2 separate regions of the Homo sapiens genome follow, and region 1 is linked to region 2. Evidence: promoter capture Hi-C in human tissues and cell types (Jung and others, 2019). All regions are on one chromosome and are shown on one strand. Each heading gives the region's core, a stretch centred on a gene start or on the middle of the fragment in contact. The rest is flanking DNA. Distances are from core to core; before and after follow the strand shown.

Region 1 (4,724 bases), core at 1,114-3,613, 1.1 Mb after region 2:
GCAATTCACTACAGAGGGAAGAGCTCTTAAGAGCTAAACAAAGTGAATTAATTCCCCCCCTCCCAATTAACTTCGGAAAGAATCTCAAAGTGCTCAGAACTCTGTCAAAGCATCAGGAAACATTTCATCTTACTACCACCATTCTAGCATAACACAGTCTTGCAAGGAGTTACCAAACATTTACCAGCCTGCATGCTGTGTATCGTTTAGAAGGATTTCAAGTTCTCCAGATGACTGTTATCTCCACAGGAGCCACAAGCAGGACTAGTTTTAATTATTATTTTATCCCCAGAAGCTAATACAATGCAGATAGATGGTATTCAATTAACATTTGTTACAAGAATTAAAAAATGAGGAGAAAGAAGAAGGAAGGTAGAAGAAGAAAGGAATAGAGAAAAGGAGGAATTGATTTGTGGTGTTAACACCAATTCAAAAACTCATAATAAAAGAGCATTTCATTTAAAGCCAGTGAGATAATTCCATCACCTCTGAGCTGTGTGGCAATGAACAAGTCATTTAACTTCTCTAAATCACAGTTTCTTCTTTCATTTAATAGCAATGCTGTCTTCAGTACATACTTTAAAGAGTTATAATGAAGCAAAATAGAGTTAATGAATTTGAAAGCACTTTGTAAACAGTAAAAGATAGCTGTTGTTGCTATTAAGACTGGGAATCTGGCTGGGTGCAGTGGCTCATGCCTGTAATCCCAGCACTTTGGGAGGCCGAAGCGGGAGGACCACTTGAGGTCAGGTGTTCGAGACCAGCCTGGTCAACATGGTGAAACCCCATCTCTACTAAAAATACAAAAAATTAGCCAGGTGTGGTGGCAGGCACCTGTAATTCCAGCTACTTGGGAGGCTGAGGCATGAGAATCACTTGAAACCAGGAGGCAGAGGTTGTAGTGAGCCGAGATCGCACACTGCACTCCAACCTCGGTGATACAGTGAAACTCAGTCTCAAACAAACAAAAAAGACTGGGAATCAAACTTTAAATTGTACTTTAGTGTGCCTATAGTTAGATCATGGTTTTGTGCCATATAATGATATTTTAGTCTGACAAAACTTGCAAGACAATTATCATGGGTTTATGTCCCAAGTGGACAAAGAAAAATGCAACTCAGTCGTTATCCTTAAGGAGCTCACAGCTTAGTGGAGGAGACCATCATGAAATTAGAAATTATAACACCAGCAGTATTAACTAGTAATGGAAAACCGTATAAATGAGTGGCAGGAAGTCACAAAGGAGGAAGAGTTACTCTGCTGAACAAGTCACAGACTTGAGAGGGGAGTGATATTTGAACTGAGCCATAAAGGATAATAGACACTTGCCAGATGAAAACAGAAAAGGCTTTGGGTGCTTAAAAGTTTGCATAAGTAATACTAAATAGTAATTTAAATATAACTGCACATATTTTTTTCAACTTTCTTTTTACATTCAATGTTATTTTTTAAAATGTACCCATCTAGTTATATGATGGATTCACAAGTGTCTATGTGTTTTCTAGTTGTTTCCTATGTTTGAAATGTGCCATAATTTAAATTATTTTATTTAAGGAAACAAAGAACGATGCCTGGCTACCACAAAGGATCTGAAGTGGTGGGAGGTGGATTTTGGTAGGTCTGAACCAGATCGAGACAGATGTTACATGTTGGCATGAGGAATTTGTATTTCATCGTTTGAACAAAAGAGATTAACATTTAATTATTAAATAGGATCGAAATGATTTTTGTTGTCACTGTTGTTGTCAGAAAGCTAAGTCAAGTGGTAGCACAGAATGAATAAATTTGCTGCAACCAGTAGAGACTTGAACCATTCTTACCCTTTGCTTGCTGTTTCCATGAACAATGCCCTCTAGATTCTAAGAGTAAACCAGACAAGGAAAGATCATCAGAATCTGGGAGACCAAGCATGCTTAAGCCGGTGTCGGTGCTTTCAAGGCCAGTGTACAAAGTGCCAGCCAACATGGTCAAAAGTCCTCTGCCTCATATCAAGGTGGGAGGAGGAGAGAACCAAGCCAGGCATACAGAAATATTTTGTATTCACTTTTGTTTTCCCCAGCTTTACCAATAAGTCATCTTTGCACCACCTTGTACCACATGAGGTCCCAGCCTCAGCCCCAGGATTGAAGGCCAATTGTGTGTTGCTGTGACAGCAAGTATTTAAAAGGAAAATAAAGAAGCGACAAGCTGCGACATGCTATCATTAAGCAATCATAACTTCCTCCCCATATTACGACAATAGATGTCACTCTCTCATCTGGAAGGCAGGCCACGTATAGAAACACCATGTCACAAAGCTTTTCAGACAAAGACGTAGTGGGGGTGAGTTCATTGGGTGCAGAATAGAATATTTTGATGGGTTGCATCCAACCCATTTCCCACCCCCCAACTCCTACATGCTCTGATAAAAGTCAGATCTGTAAAGAACTTCAAAGGCTCCCCAGTCTGACAAACAGTAATAAAACAAGAAATCGAAAAAAAAAAAAAATCTGCCAAAGTGCTTGGAGGAAGCGGAGCTGCCAAGTGCTATGATGGTTCTGTTTTAGTAATCAGCAGACTAACTGCAGGGCACTTCCTCCTAGCGGGAAGCCGAGTCTGGGCTGTCAACTGTGAAGGAGTACAGAAAGGTCAGGCAGCAAAGGGATTCTAAAGGCCTGGAATAAGCGATTGCACATTCTTTCTGGTGATTTTTCTTCTAGTCCACATCCCACCCCAAGCCCACAGCCTGCTTCATCCCAACTGCAATCTCAACTACTCCCTCACCTCCTTCTTCCAAAGAGAAAGATGTGAAAAAGCAAAATCAGTCAGTCTGATCTCACCTTCCCTTCCCTCCATTTAATGGAGGGTTGGGGGTTGGGGAGAGCATGCAACAAGGAAATAGCTCTGGAATCCAGAACATCTGGCTTCTATTCAGACCCAATCACCAACCTTGGGAGCATATTGAAAGCATTTGGCTGTCTCAACAGTCTAAAAGAAGCTATTTATTTCAGACTCAACAACCAGCCCAACCATATGCTTCCATTTGGAAACAATTGGAGGTAAGACAGAGTTTCTTTTTCTTTTCCTTTTTTTTAAGGAGGAAGGTGGAAATAACACAGGACTTTGAGTCAGAGAACTGACCTGCATTCCACTCACTCATCTGCCACTTGCTTGTGTGTGACTTTATTTGACTTCTTACTCTCTCTGCAAATTTAATTACTAAGCTATCAAGCCATGATTAAACTCCCCTCTCATGGAGTTCTTGAGAGGATTAAAAGCACAGGGTATCATAAGAACGTACTGTAGTGCCTGGTATATGATTCCTTCTCTCCTCAGACAAACCACTTACCCATAATTTATTCATTGGGCATCAAAGAACCTATCTGTCTTGTCTGTACCTCCCATGGTACTGCAATAATCAGATGAATAGTGTACGCCTAAGTGTTTGGTAATTTTAAAGTGCCTTGCAGATATGAAGGATTGCAGTTGGGATCATTATTACACCAATAATGTGTAATAATGTGTCAAAGCCAAAGCTTTGATTCCTAAAACCAATCCAGGAAAAACTGTTAATGAAAAGTTTCTAGATGACCACCAGCCATTTATTTGTCCAGGTTGATGACTAATGCTGGTGAGAATTCTTTCCATCTCTTCACCTCTATGGTTTAGTCCACTCCCTAGGTGCTTTCAATCCCAGGTAAAGGTAGAACCTGAGGCTCCATTACTTTGGCAATTAGTGGAGCCCCTTTTATTTCTATAAGCTCGGCATCATTTCCAGGACATTTCTAAACTATCAGGCCTCACTTCTCTCATCTCTAAGACTAGGAATCTCTAAACTGTAAGAATAAGAGCTATCTACATAGTAGTTCATAATTTATAAGACACTTTCACAAATGTACTCCTACCTGCTCCATACAATCACCCTGTGATTGTGTCTAACATTTCAGATGAGGAACTGAGGCTCAGACACTTAGGTGAGCCCAGGGCTCCTTGCTCAAAATCCTCGCTTTCTATCACAGCTTCCAAGCAAGGCAGCATAAGGGAATCCCAGAACAGGAAAGTAACCAGTAGGAACCAATATTAGGTCCTCAGGAACCTTGGAAGACACTAGGAAGCACAGATATTCAGTGAAGACCTCATGTGACCTCAGAAAAAAAACCCTCCCAACTGAGGATTTTGGCCAGGTGAAATTATTCCCCTGTCCAATCCATACTAAACCTTTCACCCGAAACAGAAGATATCACTTCTTAAAATTGTGGAGGATGAAGCAGTCCTACTTAGAAATATCTGGTCTCCAGATTCAGCTGCAATGCCCCGTATTCAACCCCCAGATCTCTTCACATTTCTGGTTCTGTCTTCCAGCTTGGGTCTCAATTTGCCCATGACACCAAGTGGATCTGTTGACTGACCATGTGCCCCTGAACCAGCTCATGCCTCAGCTAGGCAGTTTCAGGGTCTCCTACCAGGTAACCAATCAAGCTTTCTGGAAGGACTTTTAGAGTCATGAAAGTGTCGTTGGAGTCCACTATGACTTTTAGCTAAGTGGAAAAAGCAAAATAAGAAAGTATTTCTTCACCTTAATTTAACTTAGATGCTGGCCTCTCTAGGAGGCCTTTTTTGAATGCTCCTCTTCCCCTGCAGTGCCCTCCCAGTCTGTGTTAGATGCCACTCCTATGTCCTCCGTGGTGCTTTTCACTTTCCTCCAAGACAGCACTCAATGAGTACTGTAATTGTGTGCACATTTA
Region 2 (4,882 bases), core at 1,757-4,256:
CCTGCACCCCAACTTTGATGTTACTTCAGAGGGATAGAGGAAGTGGTAGCTTGTTTACAACCCAGAGCTGGTTTTGAAGCTGAGAGGAACACCTCACTCATATTGCACGATTCAGCTCTAACTCCTGTCCTGGGTGACCTTGCCTGTGGCTGCTCCTATCTCACAACCCAGTGGGGGTCCTGAAGGTTTGGGAGTGGTCAGGGCTGAAAGGTGTCTTTTCATTTAACTTATGAAGAAATCGTAAGAGACAAGATGATCAAGACAAAAAATTACATAATAATTTGGTTGCAAAGCCAGGACTAGAATCTATGTTTCTAATGCCACCTGCATGCACTATTTCTCTCTGGAGGCCTTCACACAAATTTGCACAGCTATTTTATATACTTACCTCATCTGATACTCTCAGCAGTCCTGTGAGATTGGTAGGGATTAAGATCTCTATTTTACAGATGAGAAAACTGAAGCTCTGAGGAGGTTTGGCCAAGTCCCCACAGCTAGAAAGTCAACCTTCTGACTCAGAATTCAGCGTGTCTTCCACTGCGTTCTGTAGTTGTGCAGCAGGCACAGTCTTGGGGGGTTGCTGATTATCTACCTGAGAATGGTTTGGAATGTAGATAATGATTAGATAGGAGGGCTTGCAAGGAGTTAATTAACCATGTTTGAATATTCTTACCAATTCTCTAGCATTCAAGTTGCAAATCAACATCAAAATGAGCAAGTAGCTGGCCCTGCCCTACTAGTCCTTCTGTGCAAGGGGCCATCTGAACCTTAAGCCAGCAGTTTGTGTGGGCAAACAGATGCCCATCTTCAAATCCACACTTAGGAGACTCCTGTCTCTGTTTTCTGCTGGGACTCTGACACTTGCTCTTGCAGAGAAGGTTCTCATTAAATATATGTTGGAAAAACCCCAATAATTGAATCATCTACAGGATGTTCTCACTTTAGCCATATTCCCTTCATTTTCCTTTGAGGGCTAAATGGGAGTAGAGATATCTTTGCTGCTGGTCCTGAGAGACCATGGGGTTGTCCATTCCTGGTAAGGTGATGCTGACCAGACAGAGCTGATCTAGATGAGGGGTGGGAGGTGACAGTGGTTCAGTGGCTTTCTTGGAGGATGCATGATTGTTTGAATTATTATTTTTAATTGACATATATAAGTATATAATAAATATATATGTTATATATATGAGTTAGAGCTGAATTGCACAATATGAGCAAGGCGTTCCTCTCAGCTTCAAAACCAGCTCTGGGTTGTAAACAAGCTACCACTTCCTCAATCCCTCTGAAATAACATCAAAGTTGGGGTGCAGGATGAAGGCACCCCAATAATACCACACTGGGGAAAGTGTGGTATTTTGATACCTGTATACAATGTATAATGAACAAAGCAGGGTGGTTAACATAGAGAATGCATGATTTGCTTGGTGGGGAGAACTGGATGGTTCTGTAATTATGTTGAGATGGACAGAAAGACATCATCTGACTTGGGGAGAAAATCGGGTGTGGGAGGAGGTGGGAGAGTGCAGAACCTGAGGCAGAGGTCCCCAGCAAGTCTGGCATGGGGTAGGGTAGGGTGGTTGAATACTGGCTTCAGGGAGATGAGGCAAGCTGGCCTGACTCTGGCAGGTTGTCAGTGGTAGTCCTAGGTAGAGGAGGGGGCTTTGCTAAGCTACCTGAAAAGTACTAGAGTGGGCCGGGGTAGGAATCGGGCTACCGTGGCTTGTCGGAGATGAGGAATGTTTTTAGAAAATTGAACTGACCATCCCTTCCTTCCCCTGAACAGCAGCTTGTATGCAACTATAAAGGTAGTCTCCCTTTCAGCCCTGCTTGCTGTGTCTTTATTCTTATCAAAAACCAGGATCTGAGTTCAGAGGGCAGTGAAACATAAAATGAAATAGGAAAGGTTGCAGTAGTACATAGACTTTGGCTGCTCCCACTAACCTGCAAAAAAAATATTTTCCTTGGGCGTACCTTAGCAGTTCCATGGCAGAAGTTTTATCTCCTGTGGTTCAGAGAGTTTGGCTCGTCAAGCTGAATGTAGGGTTAAAGTGTGTCCTCCCTCCTCTGTGGGTGTTTGCCTAGCTCCTGGCTGTGGGTTGAAGGGACTGGTAAATATGTCTATTTTACTGCTGAGGCAGGGTGGCTCAGTGCTTGGTCACCTTGGAGGGATCATAAGCAAGCCGCCGCTGGGGCCCTGTGCCACGCACAGGTATTCATGCGTGCGTGCAAGCACACCCTGTATAGCTGTGTAATAATTGTCCAGGTGTGGTGCATTCTTTGTCAGATGTACCCTTGTTTTTACTGCCTCTGTGCAGGATGTTTATTTGCTGTGCTTCAGGCTGGGGCACGTAGCTTGATCAAGGGTAGTTTTTGCTGTGGCCCCTGCAAATACGTTGTGGTGCCCAGAGTAGATGAAAAACTGTGAGTTTCCCAATAGAGCGGGTTCATCTGGACTCTTGTTGGTTGCGTTCTAGGAGCTAATTCTGTGGCTCTGGACTCTTCCCTGGAGGTGGGGATGAGGCCGGGGCCGGGGGGAGGTGGTCTTGTGGCGCTACTGCGGGCTGTGCACTCAGGAAAGTGGCCACGGTTTAGGACGACCTCGACACGACCCTGTATAGGACGCAACTAACTCCAGAGAAAACGAGCGAGCCCCATGCAACTCTTCATTCCTGCAGGGAGAACAAGGAGGTGTGCCCGCCAGGGAAGGGACGCACCCCCACCGGCGCTCGCTGCCTTAACTTCCCCATCCCCGCGCCAGGGAGGGGCCGGAGTCGCCGCCGAGGCCGCCGAGCGCAGAAAGTGCGCGAAAGGGACGCGCTGCGAGCCTCACACGTGACGGCGCCGCGCCGAACCGAGCGGGACCTGGCGGCAGCGGCGGCGGGCGCAGCGGGGCGGCCCGGAGCGGCGCGGGCGGCCTGGAGCCCCGGGAGCGGCGCGCGCGGTCCCGGCCCAGCGGCTCTCCTGGCCTCGCGCTGCACATTCTCTCCTGGCGGCGGCGCCACCTGCAGTAGCGTTCGCCCGAACATGGCGACACGGAGCAGCAGGAGGGAGTCGCGACTCCCGTTCCTATTCACCCTGGTCGCACTGCTGCCGCCCGGAGCTCTCTGCGAAGTCTGGACGCAGAGGCTGCACGGCGGCAGCGCGCCCTTGCCCCAGGACCGGGGCTTCCTCGTGGTGCAGGGCGACCCGCGCGAGCTGCGGCTGTGGGCGCGCGGGGATGCCAGGGGGGCGAGCCGCGCGGACGAGAAGCCGCTCCGGAGGAAACGGAGCGCTGCCCTGCAGCCCGAGCCCATCAAGGTGTACGGACAGGTGAGCAGTTTTGCAACCCGCCTCCCTCCAGTTTTTTCCTCTCCCTGCACTTCCTCACCCCCGCATCCATCCGTTGCAGTCGCCTCCTAGGTGCAGGCACCACTGGGGACTTCCCGGCTTGCATTTGTTTTTTTCCTTCACGAGTACAACCGTCAGCACTTGAATCGCATTGATCTTTCCTTCTTCCTGTCGATTTAGTAAACGTATTCCAGGTAACTCGCCGGGTGCAGTGCGTATTACCCCAGGGTGTGTGCAGAGAGATGTAGTTTCCGGCAGGTATAGGAGGGGTGCAGCTTCATTTTACATCTGGATAAAAAACGGGCTTTCTTTAGTGTATCATCAGTTGGCAGTGGAGGCGAGCACCCTGCAGTTGCGGTACACTTACACAGAACAGCACGAGGTGGGGGTTTCCACACTTAGCATTATTAGCACAATAAAAGTGGGCAAACCTGAAAGCTTGTCGACTATCTCTGTACAGTCAGACAAGAGGTGTGTGTATGTGTGTGCGTGTGTAAAGGCTGAATTTTTAATTTTTAATTTTTGGCGAGCGTGTGAGATGCTCTCCATTCCTTCTTCCCCACCCTTCAAGATGCTGACTCTCCCACCCCCGTCAAGATAACTTTATTTTGGAGAGGAATACCCCTCATGGCACTTGGAGATTTGAAAGGACTGCAGGAAATTTGGTGGGCATTATTATTCTATAAGTGATTTATTTCTACCCAGGCAATAGGTTTATTAGATCATAAGTAACGTGAATTTCACTTTTATGGTCAGACTTACTGCGAGGAATTGCAGATGGAGTTTGTAGGTTAGGATCAGCACTGGCAAAATTAATTTGACCGTGTTATTGCCTCATGAGACTCCCAGTCCTGCAGTTAAGATTGACATCAGCAAAAGTATAAGGTCGGTGGGGGAGAAAAAGTAGGACCAGAGGAGGGGGTAAATACACTTGTTTTCTAGAGTCAAATTGTTCCTTTTGAAGTAGAAATTATTAATAAAAGATTACCCTGAGTTCTGCCTTTTCTCACTAATTTCACTTTAGCCATTTCTTCAGGAAATACAGAGTTAAATGTTCAACCCTTGGATCCAGGACGAACCTTGTAAACATATCACCCTATTGTGTCATTTTGTTGGTGAAGAAACTGAAGCGTGGAATGGTGAAGTGACTAGTCCAAGGTCATACCGGGAAGGTGGCCTGCTCTCTAGTTTTTGTCTGCATTGTCTCAGTGACCTTTGCTTGACTGCAGTCACCCTGTCTTTATGCAATGCTGCTGAAATACCTCCTTTCTAAAATAAAATAGATCTGGTATAAAGGGGGAAAGGATGGTGGTGACTGGGTGGGAGCGTTGGATTTCCCTCCACTATTGGTCCCTGGGCAAGAATGTGTGCCCCAGGGCATGTAACTAATGGTGGCCACAGGCTGCAGGAACCTGCATGCTCAGTTCCTCTTGGGCCCAGATCCTTGTCCCCCTGTCCCCACCCCATATGACAAATATGTGTATGAACAAAAAGAAGTCATCAAGGTCCTTGCTCTTAACAGCGACACCAGCATGGGGCTGATGGAGGGTGGGAG

Evidence for each region. Contacts are between HindIII fragments. The study calls those that stand out against the background at their distance.
Region 1: a contact is called between a fragment that was not itself captured here and the fragment with the promoter of SORL1 in region 2, in 1 of the 25 tissues and cell types used here (hippocampus).

The regions. Positions count from the first base shown.
Region 1 is chr11:122,521,809-122,526,532 of GRCh38, forward strand. No RefSeq gene overlaps it. Among named protein-coding and RNA genes, the nearest start is that of TRK-TTT2-1, 36 kb to the right of the region's middle. The HindIII fragment of the contact is 3,246 bases long and covers 741-3,986 here.
Region 2 is chr11:121,449,308-121,454,189 of GRCh38, forward strand. It overlaps SORL1 (sortilin related receptor 1), which reads left to right and starts at 3,007. Exons shown (of 48, transcript NM_003105.6): 1 at 3,007-3,309. The coding sequence starts at 3,025. It overlaps SORL1-AS1 (SORL1 antisense RNA 1), which reads right to left and starts at 3,660. Exons shown (of 3, transcript NR_183636.1): 1 at 3,368-3,660; 2 at 389-592. RefSeq lists enhancers at 1,964-2,023, 3,414-3,603, 3,614-3,663, 3,704-3,773, 3,794-3,843 and silencers at 2,894-2,943, 3,074-3,123. The HindIII fragment of the contact is 11,875 bases long and covers 1-4,882 here.